5 separate regions of the Homo sapiens genome follow, and regions 1, 2, 3 and 5 are each linked to region 4. The links are contacts of gene promoters, found by promoter capture Hi-C in blood cells and fetal thymus (Javierre and others, 2016). All regions are on one chromosome and are shown on one strand. The core of a region is centred on a gene start or on the middle of the fragment in contact, and the rest is flanking DNA. Distances in the headings are between cores, read along the strand shown. Region 1 holds the start of TEX55 (testis expressed 55). Region 2 has its middle 8.3 kb from the start of NDUFB4. Region 3 has its middle 66 kb from the start of IGSF11-AS1. Region 4 holds the start of CFAP91 (cilia and flagella associated protein 91). Region 5 has its middle 40 kb from the start of NDUFB4.

Region 1 (2,747 bases), core at 97-2,596, 560 kb before region 4:
TTGAGTGTTTGGGAATTTTTTTCTTTACGCTTTCTTTTTTATATTTCTATGATTATTACATTTAAGTTATAAAATGGAAAAATAAATCTCCAAAACCAATAGCACTTTGAAGCTACAAGCCATAGCCCAAGACCTATTTTACTCTAAACACAGTATCCAATGGTGTCATGCATTTTTAAATAAATAAGGTAGATAATTCATAAAGTGACATTCAACAAGCACTTCTTGAGCACCTATTATGTTCTAGGCACTGTTACATAAATGACTTTACTTCAGTGTGCTTAGATTCCCCTTTCCATTCCTAAGTATGGTGTCAAGTGTATCCACTCTCCTTTGTCACAAGTATTTGAATTTGGATTTTAAGTCTCATTTCTAATTGTTTAATGCAGTTAAATCCCTACTAAAGGAATATCTGGCATCACACTACCAACCCTTGGCCTGCCTCAGTGATTTCAGGCTTTGCAAGGTCAAAGTAATTTGTCTCATCAATCACCACCTCTGTACTGGCCTACTCCTGAAAGTAGACAGCCTACTGACTCTGAGGTGCATTCTTAAGGTTGATTGCAAAGTGGGAGGACCAAATCTCAAAAACTGGGCCCCACTGGCCAACACTATCAAATACAAATTCTCCACTTGCTAAATATTCCTTCTGGTATCTTTCTCCCACTTTCCTTACTCCCTTCCTTTCTGGAACTCTGATTTGGCCTCCTTCTAACTCGCCTCTCTGCTGTAAGACCACTAGATGGTGCAGTTTTAGAACCCATTCTCACTGGATCTTCTCTCCTCTCTCTGGCTCTCCCGCCACAGATCACATGTCTAATCCAGCAAGAAAACACCTTGGGGCAGGAGTTTCCACTGCCAAGACAGCTATACCCAAAGGGGATGGCAATAGCAACAACCTCTGTTCAGTTTTGTGGTCCTCGTGCAGCTGGTTGTGTGTTCATCTGTTGACATTTGGAGGTGCGGTGGGGGATGTTAATCAGAGGAGCAGTACCTGAGAGAGGGCCTCTTTCTCACACACTGCGGAGAACCTCTGTGAACAAGGAAGAGGGTAACACTCTAGGTGGCGATGCACGGAGCCCCGTGGCCTGGTTGCTCGGCAGGGTGAGGAGAAGCTGTAACTGCCAGAGCCTGAGAATCGCCCCTTCTCAGGACATGGCGTACTCCCTGCGCTCGCCTGCACACTGCAGGGTCAGCTGACTGCCGTCCCTCCACTTACAACAGCGGGACGGCCACTCTCCCTGACGCACGCAGTGACCCGAACAAAGCCCGTGGGAATCATGGGGCGTTCCTGGAGGGTCGCCTAGACGACCCAGCCCAACCCCACCCACAGTGCCTGGCAACCTAGACCAGTCAGGGACGCGGCAGGAAATGGAAGAGCCTCCGCAAGAGGCTCTGGCTGAACCCTTGAAACATGAAAGCCCAGCCGCTCCCTCAAGTGCTGGCCACACTAAGGGCCAGGAAGAAGACGACCAGAAGAACCAGGCCGAAAGGAAGGCAGATAACCACACTGCTCACAGAATAGCTGACCAGACTGCCCTAAGAGTGCCTAGCCAGGCTGAATCCAGCATATTTAGCCAAGCTACCAACGGAGTAGCTGAACAAAATGGGCATAGTACACCTGGTCAGGCTGGCCGCAGAGCATCCAACCCTGCTGATGTTTCTGACCTTAGAGCAGATGATCAGGTTAATCAAACACCGTCTGAACAGACTAAAGGCAAGGCATCTAGCCAAGCTAATAATGTACAGCATGAACAGAGTGATGGTCAGGTGTCTGGCCTGACGGAGGAAAGAACTGCTGAACAGACTGAACGAAGATTACCTACCCAGGCTGAGAGAAGAACTTCTGGGCAGATTGATGGTAGACTGGCTATGCCATCTGACCAGAGAGGTTCCAGACAGACCGACCACAGAATGGCAGGCCAGTCTGAGAGAAGAGCTTCCGAGCAGATGGACCGCAGAATGTCTGGCGAGGCTGAGCGAAGAACTTCTGAGCAGATTACACACAGATTATCCAAACTATCTGAGAGAAGACCTTCTGTGCAGATTGACAGTGGGTCATCCGTCCCATCTGACCAAAGTCCTTCTGTACAGATTGACAGTGGATCGTCCGTACCATCTGACCAAAGACCTTCCGTACAGATTGACCGCAGAATGTCAGGGAAAGTTAGGAGAAGAAGTTCTGAGAAGACTGACTACAGATTGGCTGGCCTGGCTGACCCAGGAACTTCTGAGCAGACTGACCTCAGATTGTATGGCCTCGTTGACCACAAAACATCTGTAAAGACTCACCACCAAGTGTACGGCCAAGCCACTGAACTAGCTGAACACCAGGCTATTGACCAAGCTCATAGTAATGCTGATCAACCTCCAGTTGACAATGCTCACTACACTGAATCTGACCAGACTGACCACTTAGCAGACAGACAAGCTAATCATAAAGACCAGCTGTCTTACTATGAAACACGTGGCCAGTCTGAAGACAGAATATTTCCCCAGTTAGGCAACAGCAAAGAGGACAAAGAGGCTGACTACAGAGTACAACCCTGCAAATTTGAGGATAGCCAAGTAGACCTCAATTCCAAGCCTTCAGTTGAAATGGAAACTCAGAATGCAACCACTATCCCACCCTACAACCCAGTTGATGCCAGATTCACCAGTAACTTCCAAGCAAAAGACCAAGCTCTTTTCCCAAGACTCCCCTCCATCTCATCCAAATTGAACTATACCAGCAGTCAAGAAAAAAC
Region 2 (2,700 bases), core at 28-2,527, 900 kb after region 4:
CACGACTACTTTGATTTGAAGCTTGCATAAGCATGGGTTGCCCCAGAAAGCAGAGACTGAGGGAAAGTCTTCTGTGCAGGTAGTTTATATTAGGAAGTGATCTGAAGGAATAGAAGTTTGGGAAGAGTGAAACATGGAAGGAGGGAAAGCCAGCAAACATGTGCCATGAACCTGTTGCCTCTGAGAGTAACAGGCTCCCACCTGGGACCTTCTGAGAAGCCCTGTGGAATGTAGAATTTTTCAACCAGATGTGGGAAAAGCAAATGTTTGTCTTGTCTCCATTGGTCAAGGGTTATCCCATGCAATTCTCGTGTACATCAGGGTATGGACATACTCTGGAAAGGCTGACGATGTTTTTACAGGCATTACACATGCGGGAGAAAGGAAGCTTAGGGCAGAAAGCAAGTGATGTGCAGCTGAGGTAAAGTATTGTCAGGTCACACTTGCAGGCAGCTGACAGTGGCAGCAATAGTTAGAGTAAAAAGGTGGACCAAGAGGTTGTGAGGCAGGCAAAAGAGATATAGGATTTCTTCCTCCACTTCATGCGCTGCTTGGATCTATTTGGACATACACTGAGTCCAGTCTATAACATGTCCTTCAAGGTGATGGCTGTATACAATCTACAGAACACTCAGTATGGACAATTAGTGGAACCAGCTACAGTACATACTGTTGCAACTGGCCCAGAGTCTGTAACTCATTCATCTCCCCTCATCGTATTTACTAGATTTCCCTTCCTTGGCCATCATTTTAGCAGGTCTAGATTGCTAGCCAGATGAAGTCACCAAAGCCTTCATTTCTAAGGACCAGAATCTTAGTTACTCTATCATCATCAGCCCTTTGTTGTAGCAATTGCATGTTTACAGCTGGGCTGGAAGTGGAAGCACCGAGATGCTCCAGTGAATCCCCTGGACTCCAGACATTACCCTTTTTGCCCCATTGTGTAGCAGCAACCCTAGCTCCGTGGGTCACTTACTGCTGCCAGTATGGAAATTTCTTTTTCGGTCTACTGTTTCCCAAATACAAGAAGTACCAGATTATTTTGTTTCCCTGGTGAAAGTGTTCTTATGCCCCAGCATGGGAATCAGGACTTCTTCCAGCAGAACCTAAATTTGGAGGGAGGGGAAGTGCACATTCCACCATGAGTTACTGGGATGGCAAAAGGGGCCAATCCTACTTCTTGGTTCTCAGAGTCATAAATTCTAGCTGCTGGGGCATAGCACTGTATCTATGACCATTGGTTCATTGCATATACCACATGGTCAACCCTGAGCCTCAGTCCTGCTAGATGTCCTTAAGCTGGTACTTTAGCTAAGCCTTTAGTAGGCTTAGCTAAATTCATCTGTGCCCTAGAGCTGCTGTGTACATCCAATCACATGACAGTGCTTCTGACTGTCCAGATCTTGATAGGCAGTTCTGGTTGAATGGTCACCTCATCTCATACTGGGTGCCCAGCTGCTTTTGGAATGGTGAATTTTTCTTTGCTGCAGAAGGCATGGCCTTGCTCCACAACCTAAGAAGTCAGCACTGCAACTATTCTGTTGCCAAGGTCTTGTAGGAGACTCCAAGCAGCATCCTTAGCTACCTACCACAGACACCTAGAGTATTGGCTTTATTGTGTTATATGACCCAAGTGGCTGCTGCTTACACTGCAGCCTGGATCTGCTGCAGAGTCCTTTCTGGGCTCCATTCAAAACTGGCAGCTTATAGCCAGGCATGCCTGGTATGTGCCTAACTAATTGGAAGGCTGAGATGGGAGGATTTCTTGAGCCCAAGAGTTCAAAGTTGCAGGGAGCTATGATCATGCCACCCACTGCACTTCAGCCTGGGTGACAAACTGTGACCCTCTCTCTGGAAGAACAAAACTGGCAGCTTTACAAATCACTGCATAAATGGGTCAGAGTACTGTTCCCAAGTAGGGTATGTGTTGTCTCCAGAATCCAGAGGCCCACAAAGTGCTGTGCCTTTTTCTTTGTAGTAGAGGGTGTGAAGTGGTTCAACTTGTGCTTTACTTTGGAGGGGCTATCCTGGCATGCCAAAGACCACTGGATACCCACAAACATCACTGATATGGGAAGCTCCTAAACCTTTATAGAGATTATCTCCCACTTTCTGGATCTTATACTAGTGCATTAAGGTAATGAGGAATCTAATCTATGAGTAAACAGAAGCTTTAAGGCAGAAATACTAGAAGGTGTGAGAAACAGCAATTCAAAGGGGCCAAGGTGGTAGACACGTGGGAGTAGCTGTGTGTAATGGTGGAGTAAAGATCCATGAATTCCTGCAAAATGGATCTTAAAACTATTTTGGATCTACAGCTACCATCCTGTGCCCATGAGACTTGACCAAATCATATGATTTCCATGTGGTTCCTGTTTGCTAATTTGCCCCTGCCCATATCATTACAATAACGGTAAGACCCTGCTTCTTCCACCCATCCTAATGGCCATTATTGTTATATTGTTCTCCAGATCTTAAAGAATTGTATTACTTGATTCTCATTTTGCTAGAGGGCAAAAACAGAAGGAATCCTACTGTGACCTTCCGTCTTTTTTTCTAGATGACTTTAGTTTACCCCGTAGTCCCCACTTATTCAGTTATCTGAAGTCAACCACAGTTCTAAAATAGGTGAGACAGTACAATAAGATGTTCTGAGAGAGAGAGACCACATTCCCATAACATAACAGTGTTTACTATTAT
Region 3 (2,700 bases), core at 84-2,583, 830 kb before region 4:
CCAAGGCGTCAGCTACATGGACAAGGTAAAAAACATCACAGTTGGCCACACAAGACATTTGGGCCTCTATATGAAATTTATGTTCGTTGTGTGCTGTTTCCAAGTAAAATTTCAAATTAACTATTTCTTTGATAAGAAATCGCCATAATTCTTAGAGTGCTGAAAGGGAGAAAATGAACCAACTATAGTCATGGACAATGAAATTAATTGCCTGAGAATTTCCTGTAAAAGAGCTCTGGATTAGGTCACAACACACTTATGTTAAATGCCGTATAAGACATTCTCCAAAAAATATCCTAAATGGGGCCTAGATCTCCTGGCACTGTCATATAAGGAGTTCTGATGGGACTAAATTGAACAAATAGAAAGTAATCGTTATCTGTTAGAAAGGTGTAGCCAGGTCTTTCTGTACCCTTTCCAAAAGAAAAACTGCATATCTTCCATGAGAGACAAAAGTATGTACCATCTGCAAATTCTTGCAAAGACCTGTATCACATAAAAATTACCCTTATTCTCTCCTTCGATATGTGGATTTCTATAAATAAATCGAGAGAAGCTAAGCCTTTGGTAAGCCAAAAAAGACAAAATAAAATTGTGACTGGATGTCACTATGAGCCCCCAGTTTCGGTCTAGAATAAATAAAAGGAATCTGTGTTTCTACGCCCCTTTTCTAGAACTGTTGCACATTTTCACCAGGCTGCCTGGTCGAGGAGAAAAGAAGTCTGGGAATGGGGATGCTATCTTTGTAAAGGCGTTGGAAAGAGGATCTCAGCACGGCAGTGAGAAACCACATTGGTTCTCTATGGGAATTAAGCAGATTAAGTGTACAAACCTATAATTCCAGGGAAGTAACAGCCTTGTTGCTGCAAAGGGTAGAAGCTTCAGAGTGGAAGTCACTATTAATTCCTATGTGGTTTGCCACAAAGGGTGTGCTGTCAGCAACAACAACCCCTAGAGCTGCTAGCTTGAATTCTCAGGCCATGCTCACATGAACTACAGAATACTACAGTGACTCTAGAGACTGGTGTCCTTACGTCTCTCATTCTATGCTATGAATAACTGATTCCTGCCTCAGCTCATGGTATTCCCAAACATAAGGACTAGACAAGGGCACAGCTGTAGCACAAGTTTTAGAGTGTAGGTCTGAGATTAGAGGGAAGTCAGGCCAGGAAAGAATCCCTCAAGTGTTGAGGGTCAACATAACAACAAGCTCAGAAGCAAATGTAACAAGCTGCCAAATCTCCAAGGTAAAAGGTGGTAGCTGAAATAGTTTAGAGAGATTCTGTAGGGAGAAAGACATATTTGAAGTGAAGTCCACAGATGAGGATTTCAGGATCTTGCAGGATACTGAAAGCAGGTTTTTTGTTTGTTCGGGTTCTATTTTTTTTTAAGCTACCATTGTATTAATGGTCTAACTGAGGATCTTTTTTTATTATTTATTTATTTATTTTCAATTTTTGTAGCTATATAGTTGGTGTATATATTTATGGGGTACATGAGAAATTTTGATACAGGTATACAATGCATAATAATCACATTAGGGTAAATGGGGTATCCATCACCTCAAGCATTTATCCTTTCTATTACAAACAACCCAATTATACTCTTTTCGTTATTTTAAATGTACAATAAATTATTATTGACTACAGTCACCTGTTATGCTATCAAATAGTAGATCTTATTCATTCTAACTATATTTTTGTACCCGTTAACTATTTCCACTCCACCTACCACACTCACTACCTTTCCCAGCCTCTGGTAACCATTATTCTACTCTGTATTATTTGTAAGCTTCATGGTAACCATAAAATTTAAAACAACAGATACACAAAAAAATAAAAAGCAAGAAATTAAAGCATACTACCAGAGAAAAACCACCTACACTAAAAGGAAGACAGGAAGGAAGGAAGGAAAGAAAGAAGACCACAAAACAACCAGAAAATAACAAAATGGCAGGAGTTAAGTCCTCACTTATTAGTAGTAACAGTGAATGTAAGTGGAGTACACTCTCCAATCAAAAGACAGAGTGGTTGAATGGATTAAAAAGCAAGACCCATTGATCTGTTGCCTATAAGAAATACGCTTCATCTATAAAAACACACACAGACTGAAAATAAAGGGATGGAAAAAGATATTCCATGCAAATAGAAACAAAAAAAGAGCTGGAATAGCTATACTTATATCAGACAAGATATATTTCAAGACAAAACTTTAAAAAGAGACAAAGAAGGTCACTATATAATGATAAAGCAGTAAATTCAACAAAAGGATATAACAATTATAAATATACATGCACCCAACACTGGAGCACCCAGATATATAAAGCAAATATTAGAGCTAAAAATAGAGACAGGCCCTAATTCAGTAATAGCTGGAGACTTCAACACCACACACTCAGCCTGGACAGATATCTAGACAGAGAAATGACAAAGACATACTTCATGATATCCTTACTTCTATTTTTACCTGCGAACCTTTTTGAGACTCATTTTATAAATAGGGTACAGTTGAAACTGGATTGTTCCATCGTGCCCATATTTACGAGGTAGAGGCATGTAATCTTGGTGTTTGACTTTTCTATTGATAAAGAACAACAGGGAGCACACTTAGAGCGCTGTTCAGTAACTCTTTCCCAAAAGGGCTTTCAAGTGCTAATTGATCAGGAATACACACCACTTCTTATCAAGGGCCAAAACCTAT
Region 4 (2,748 bases), core at 120-2,619:
TCCTTGAAGCCTGTGAGACCATGAACCCTTCGATCGAGAAAAACCTTTGATCGGAAGAAGACTTCTCGTCTCAACATTAAAGGACAAAGAAGCCAACTCTAAGGCATGCCATTAGCTTTAATAATCTGAGTGTAATAAATAATAATGATCATAACGGATTAAAACATCAGATCTGTAAAAAATGCATGCATTCATAATGATATCAAACAAACAAAAACTTTGTGGTTAACTCTGGAGTTTGGTAGGGCACCAACTCATGTCTCTGAAATTTCATAATTAAAAAGAACAAATCCAGCATTTACCCAGTCTTTCCTCTATGAGATTATCCTGGTTATCTCAGGATAACCAATGAGTTGGTATGAAAAGATTCCTTTTATAGAAGAACCTCTGGTAATAATAGAGAATTATTGAAAGGATTAGAAATTCACTGCTCTAGGATAAAAGACTTAAGAGACATACCAAAATGCAACATGAGGACTTTTTTTGGATCTTGACTGGAACAAACCAACTATAAAAGATAATTTGGACTCAAACAGGAAAATTGGAATTATTTATAGTACTAAGGAATTATTGTTAATTTTGTTAGATATGATAACGGTAGTTAAATTTTTAAAATCTATGTCAGTTTGAGATGCAGACTAATTTAAGGGTAAAATAATATTATGTCTAGGATTTCTTTAAAAAAGAGGGGAAGGAAACTGAAACTTGATTGGCAAAATGTTGCTAAATGTTGATTCTGAGGGATGGGTTACTTGAGGGTTTGTTATTAAAAGTAGAATCACTTTTGCTTATGTTTAAAATTTTCCATTATAAATAGTTTTCAAAAGCAGAGCCAGTGCCTACCCCACATCATCTTCTGTTATTTAATGCCCAGGACTCAGAAAGGGTCAGCAGTCTCAGATCAACAGTTACTGATGTCCTAACCCATCCTAAACACTGATGCTAATGAGTGTGGGGCAAAGTTCACAGCGTGCTAAGGAGCAACATTTAGGAACCTGACTGGATTCCGCAGCTCTCGGGACAAGCCCCCTGGAAAAGGGCTGGGGGGAGGGGCGGGGAGGCACCCAATTATTCTAGAAGGTTCTGAGATCTCCCAGGGATTTCCGAGAGGCTACGAGGTGTAACTGGCAAATCAATGACTTAAGAGTAGCTTTCTCCCAGCCTCCCCGCTGGCTCTGGAGTATAGAGGGAAGCCAGCCTTTTCCTCCCCCATCCTGCCCCTCCCCTCTCTTCTCATCTTCCCCTCCACTCTCCTCCTGACCCTGGCCTGGCCACTCCTGCTTTCACTTCTCTCCACTCCTCTTCGGCCCCGCCCCGCGGCCTCCTCCCTCCTCCTTGCCCCGCCCCCTATCCCTGCGCGCCGGCGGCCGTTACCATAGCGACGTGCACGCAGTAGCCAGGCCTGACCCGCTGGTCCCTTGCTGGCGGGAGGAAAGAGGCGGCACCATGAGCCACGCAGTAACCATCGAGGAGCCCCAGGCCCAGCCGCAGGTGTCTCAAACTCGGTACCGGGAGAGGTCGCGGGCTGGGAGCCACATCTCCTCCAATCGAGCGTATGATTTTCTGTACGGTAAGGACCGCCGCAGACCTTCCTCCGCGTCCGTCGCCTCCTAGGCCAGGTGGGCTCCCAGATGGTGGGACCTGGCCAGGGGCATGGCGAACGAAACACGACCCTCTGGACTGACCTCTTGCCCACGGTTGTCCTTGGTCGGGTGGGGGCAGCTCCGAGCCCTCCAGGTGGCCGCACTCAGGTTGGGGTCGGGGGTTCGGGTACATCGAAAGGCGCGGGTGCGCTCCGCTTCGGGGGGCGATTTTCCTGAAACCTGTTCCGGGCGTTTTGGTACCCAGAAAGTGTGCAACGATTTGTACACTCGGAGATTCACTCAACGTTCCTGCATAAAATGCCCTACAAAAATGATCTTTTCTCTCCAACTCTCTGGGCAAATCCAAGTTGGGCGAAAAGAAGTGCCAGTTTATCCCATGCTTGTTTTTAGGTTTTTTGTTGTTGTTGTTGTTTGTTTTTTTTAACTTCTGCGTCAAAGCATTGCTTATAGACTGGGTCCGCTGGCTCCTCTTGGGCCAATAAAACCCCAGTTTATTTTAACGGCTTGGTTGTCCATTTTATGTTTTCTCTCTCTCCACGCTCCTTGAGTTCCTTAAGTTCCTGTTCTACACATTTTTGTAGCCTTCTGAGCACCTATTCTAGTGCTGATACATATACTAGGCGCTTCAATAAATAAATGTTTATTGAATTTGCCGTGGCAAGAACTGTAACCAGCTATAAGCATGATTTTTTCCAATTTTGCCCTCTGCAATCCCAGGTTTTTCACCTGAACCTTGCATTGCTTTCAGCAATGTGGTGTTGCCTCTGGGAATCCCAGTCTCCTTTGTGTGGGAATCTAGGGTACACATTCCTAGATAGAGGCTGTGTAATGATTGCTGACATATTCTGGCCAGTGTTTTTCTGTATTTACTCTTGGTTTTGTGAAATAAATCAAGTTAGCTCCTGTAAACACATCACCATGTTTTTTTTTCACGGGTAATTTGAGAAGGAGGACAAACATCTCCCCAAAGTATTTATTAAGCTGGTTGTTTCTTTGATGCCGAAGTGTCTCTTTTGCAGAGGAATTGCTAAATGTTTCCATGTCCCTTGCTAAGAACAGAAATTCACTCAGAGTAGATCAAATAAAAGTTTGGATTGTTATAAAACAATCTCGCCGCTAGTCATGGACAGGAAGCGAAGTATAG
Region 5 (2,886 bases), core at 224-2,723, 850 kb after region 4:
TCTCATACTCTATCACTCTAGGATTTTTCTCATAGTGGAGTCATTAGTATCTACTATGCAGGAGACAGAGACCTCCTTTGCCTGGAATTAATATTCTTTCGGTTGGGGAGATGCAATCAGAACTCTGGCCAGTGGAGCTCAATTGAGTCAGTCCCTAGGGTGTGAGATGATCTCATTTTATGGGGAGTGACCCTGCTTACAACAACTTGGAATTCTTTACCTTCTCCACCACATCTGGGAAAGTAAGGACTTGGGATATAGGATAATGAAGAGAGGGCAGGGTAATAATGGGGCAAAGGACTTAAACTGGAGCCATATCTGATTATTTGGTCAATTGTCCTTGCCTCTAGATTATCACTGAGTGTTCCCTTTCTGTAGTCCCTGACTGAAGTCACAGTCATTAATGATGGTAGAAATCCAGGGAGATGAAGCAAGATTACACTGAGGCTTGGTGCCAAGTGTCTACAAGTGTCAGAGACCCCACCCAGGCCTTGGACTTGGCCTTATGGGTACATTCTCCAGGACCGCCCCCACCTCACCCTGCCAGAAAGTGCTCCTCCCCTGGAACCCGCCCCCACCCAGATGACCTTCGCAGCCTTCCTCAGGTGCTCCTGGCTGCTCTCTGCTCCTGCACCACCTCTCTCTGTCAACTTAAACCCATAGTAGCCCCTCCCACTAACTCTCCTCTACTCCCCCAGCTAAGACAGCAGGTCTGCCTTTTTAAACTCAGATCAGGCTACTGGGTGTGAGGTCCATGAGGCCATGGCCTTGTGTCTTTTGGTGCTTGTGAGCTTATCTTGGGCCTGGAAAATCATGCTGAGGAGGAAGATATTCCTGCTGCTGCCACCATGGAAAACAGTGCTGTGTTCCAGGAGCTGGGGAATAGTGTGGCAAGCAGATGACCCTTGTACAGCAGAACATTGATGACCTTCTGGAAGAGACCCAGAGATAAGGAGGGAACAGCTTGTGCGGAAAAGGGAGTCCTAGAAGCCAGTCCAAATATTGCAGATGGAATTCTTGTGAGTGAGGGCTTTCTACAAAACCGTTTGCCAAGACAGCTCACATGTTTGCAAGGCAAACATCTAGGCACAAGCTTACAAAATGAAACAGGCAGCTCAATGGCAGGCCCTGGCATGTTGTCGGTGGGAGGCGGACAAGTGAGGACCATGGGCCTTTCACCTGTCCATTTCTCTCTAGCTGCTATGGGGGGCCTCTAATGCTGTATGAGTTCTTTGACTTTCCAATCTATTTAATAGAAGAGAACCTGGGAAGTTAGCTCATCCAAGTCATGCCTCTGTCTCTACACTGGATGTTACCTGCAGCATGTGATAACAAGACAGTTCTGTTCTTTCAATAAATGCCTCTAGAGGAAAGTGCCCACCTATTCTCTGTGACCCATTCTAGGGTTTAATCGCTGTGAAATCTTGAACAATAGGCCTCACATTGACCTTAAGATGCCCCCTCGGTAGTTTACTTTTATTCCATTTCCTATTGATTACAGGTGGGGAATAGCCACTGACCAAGGTTTTCACTTGAAAGGATGCTTTTAAATACTTGACCATAACAGGCCCCCTTAACCTACACTTATTTAGACCTAATAACTTTAGAAACATTTTATACACTTATTTACTTGATAATCTTTTCCAACTATTCTATAATCTCTGCTAGTGACCACAGCTGCTCTCCCCCCGACAGAGCTCCCCTCTCCTTTCTAGGCACCCCATCTCTTCCCTACCTAAGAAATTTTTCCATCTTCAATGCACCAACATTTGAGCAGCTGTATAAGCACAAAATACTTAATTTGGGAACAGTGTCTGTGGGAAGGAATGCTTTGTTAGTTTCCAAAGTAATGCAAAGCTTAATTTTAGAAAGTAATTTAACTTTTTTTTTTTTTTTTTTTTTGGTTCTGGAAGTCACAGAGATTATGGATTGCACTGCAGAGGCAGCCTGCCTCCTGATGATGCTAGCACTTTGTAGCACTGGGTTTTTCTGCAGCAGTTTCATTTTTGTTCTCATTCAGAGACACAGTGGGTCAGTTCAATAAAAACATTTACTCCCTGAGGTCAGGGCCTATGTCTTGTACAGCCTGTCTGTATGGCCAGGGCCTGACAAGGACAAGTAAGTGGGAAGTATTCTTAAATGTTGAATAGCATTGCATTGCCTATCTGCCTCCCACTCCCTACCTTGGTCTTAAACTTGGTCCAATCAGGTTCTGGAACTAGGAAAGAACAGCTATCAAGTATTGGGCAGGACAGGGACAGGCGGGATCGGATCATACCACTGCTACATTCCATGGCTCCAGGAGAAAGTTATGGTGACAAGATTGAAGAGTATCATGTCCTACCAGATCTGATATCAGTCTCTTCCTCTCAGGGACACACAGGACTAGGAGCTGAAACATAATAGGAATTGGGATAGGAATCTGAACCAATAGAGCCAGATAGATTTGGAGACAGGGACCATGAAATGCAGAAATTAGGGGGGTACATCACCACCACCATAGTAGCAATATTTAGGGCTGGAACTGAGATAGGCTCTTGATAAGTAGCACTGCCCCAGAGCCCTCTGTGGGCTCCAGGTGAAGCACCTTCTATCATTTGCTGGGGTGCCTTTTGACTGTCATGGCATGCTCTAGTGCCTTAACACCACGATTGGTGACATTCCCAATTCCCCAGAAATAAAATTTAAACTCTATTTTCCAAGGGTACACACACACACACACACACACACACACACACACAGTCTCTCTCACTCTCTCTTCCAACTGTGTTATAAGCAAAAGTCAGTTTGAGAGGAAGACAGTGATGAAGTCCCCAAGAGAAAATCACTGTGAGTAAAGATACTGTGGCAGAGTGGACCAGACTCAACCAGAGCACCTGAATCTTG

Evidence for each region. The method cuts DNA at HindIII sites, captures the fragments that hold promoters and counts their contacts. A CHiCAGO score of 5 or more calls a contact.
Region 1: the fragment with the promoter of TEX55 here is called in contact with the fragment with the promoter of CFAP91 in region 4 in 9 of 17 cell types (fetal thymus, total CD4 T cells, naive B cells and 6 more); the score reaches 8.2 in fetal thymus.
Region 2: a fragment that was not itself captured here is called in contact with the fragment with the promoter of CFAP91 in region 4 in 1 of 17 cell types (neutrophils); the score reaches 5.9 in neutrophils.
Region 3: a fragment that was not itself captured here is called in contact with the fragment with the promoter of CFAP91 in region 4 in 1 of 17 cell types (total B cells); the score reaches 5.4 in total B cells.
Region 5: a contact is called between a fragment that was not itself captured here and the fragment with the promoter of CFAP91 in region 4, in 1 of 17 cell types (monocytes). The highest score is 5.2, in monocytes.

What each region holds. Positions count from the first base shown.
Region 1 is chr3:119,144,819-119,147,565 of GRCh38, forward strand. TEX55 (testis expressed 55) reads left to right here and starts at 1,347. Exons shown (of 3, transcript NM_152539.3): 1 at 1,347-2,747. The coding sequence starts at 1,372. It also overlaps a transcript of IGSF11 not described here. RefSeq lists a silencer at 604-898. The HindIII fragment of the contact is 11,642 bases long and covers 1-2,747 here.
Region 2 is chr3:120,603,264-120,605,963 of GRCh38, forward strand. No RefSeq gene overlaps it. Among named protein-coding and RNA genes, the nearest start is that of NDUFB4, 8.3 kb to the left of the region's middle. The HindIII fragment of the contact is 1,783 bases long and covers 387-2,169 here.
Region 3 is chr3:118,875,597-118,878,296 of GRCh38, forward strand. No RefSeq gene overlaps it. Among named protein-coding and RNA genes, the nearest start is that of IGSF11-AS1, 66 kb to the right of the region's middle. The HindIII fragment of the contact is 912 bases long and covers 878-1,789 here.
Region 4 is chr3:119,701,653-119,704,400 of GRCh38, forward strand. It overlaps CFAP91 (cilia and flagella associated protein 91), which reads left to right and starts at 1,370. Exons shown (of 18, transcript NM_033364.4): 1 at 1,370-1,570. The coding sequence starts at 1,447. It overlaps LOC105374064 (a long non-coding RNA gene), which reads right to left and starts at 1,391. Exons shown (of 3, transcript XR_924391.4): 1 at 844-1,391. RefSeq lists enhancers at 1-189, 856-1,535, 1,529-1,578, 1,629-1,688 and a silencer at 1,249-1,418. The HindIII fragment of the contact is 3,012 bases long and covers 1-2,748 here.
Region 5 is chr3:120,555,315-120,558,200 of GRCh38, forward strand. No RefSeq gene overlaps it. Among named protein-coding and RNA genes, the nearest start is that of NDUFB4, 40 kb to the right of the region's middle. The HindIII fragment of the contact is 764 bases long and covers 1,092-1,855 here.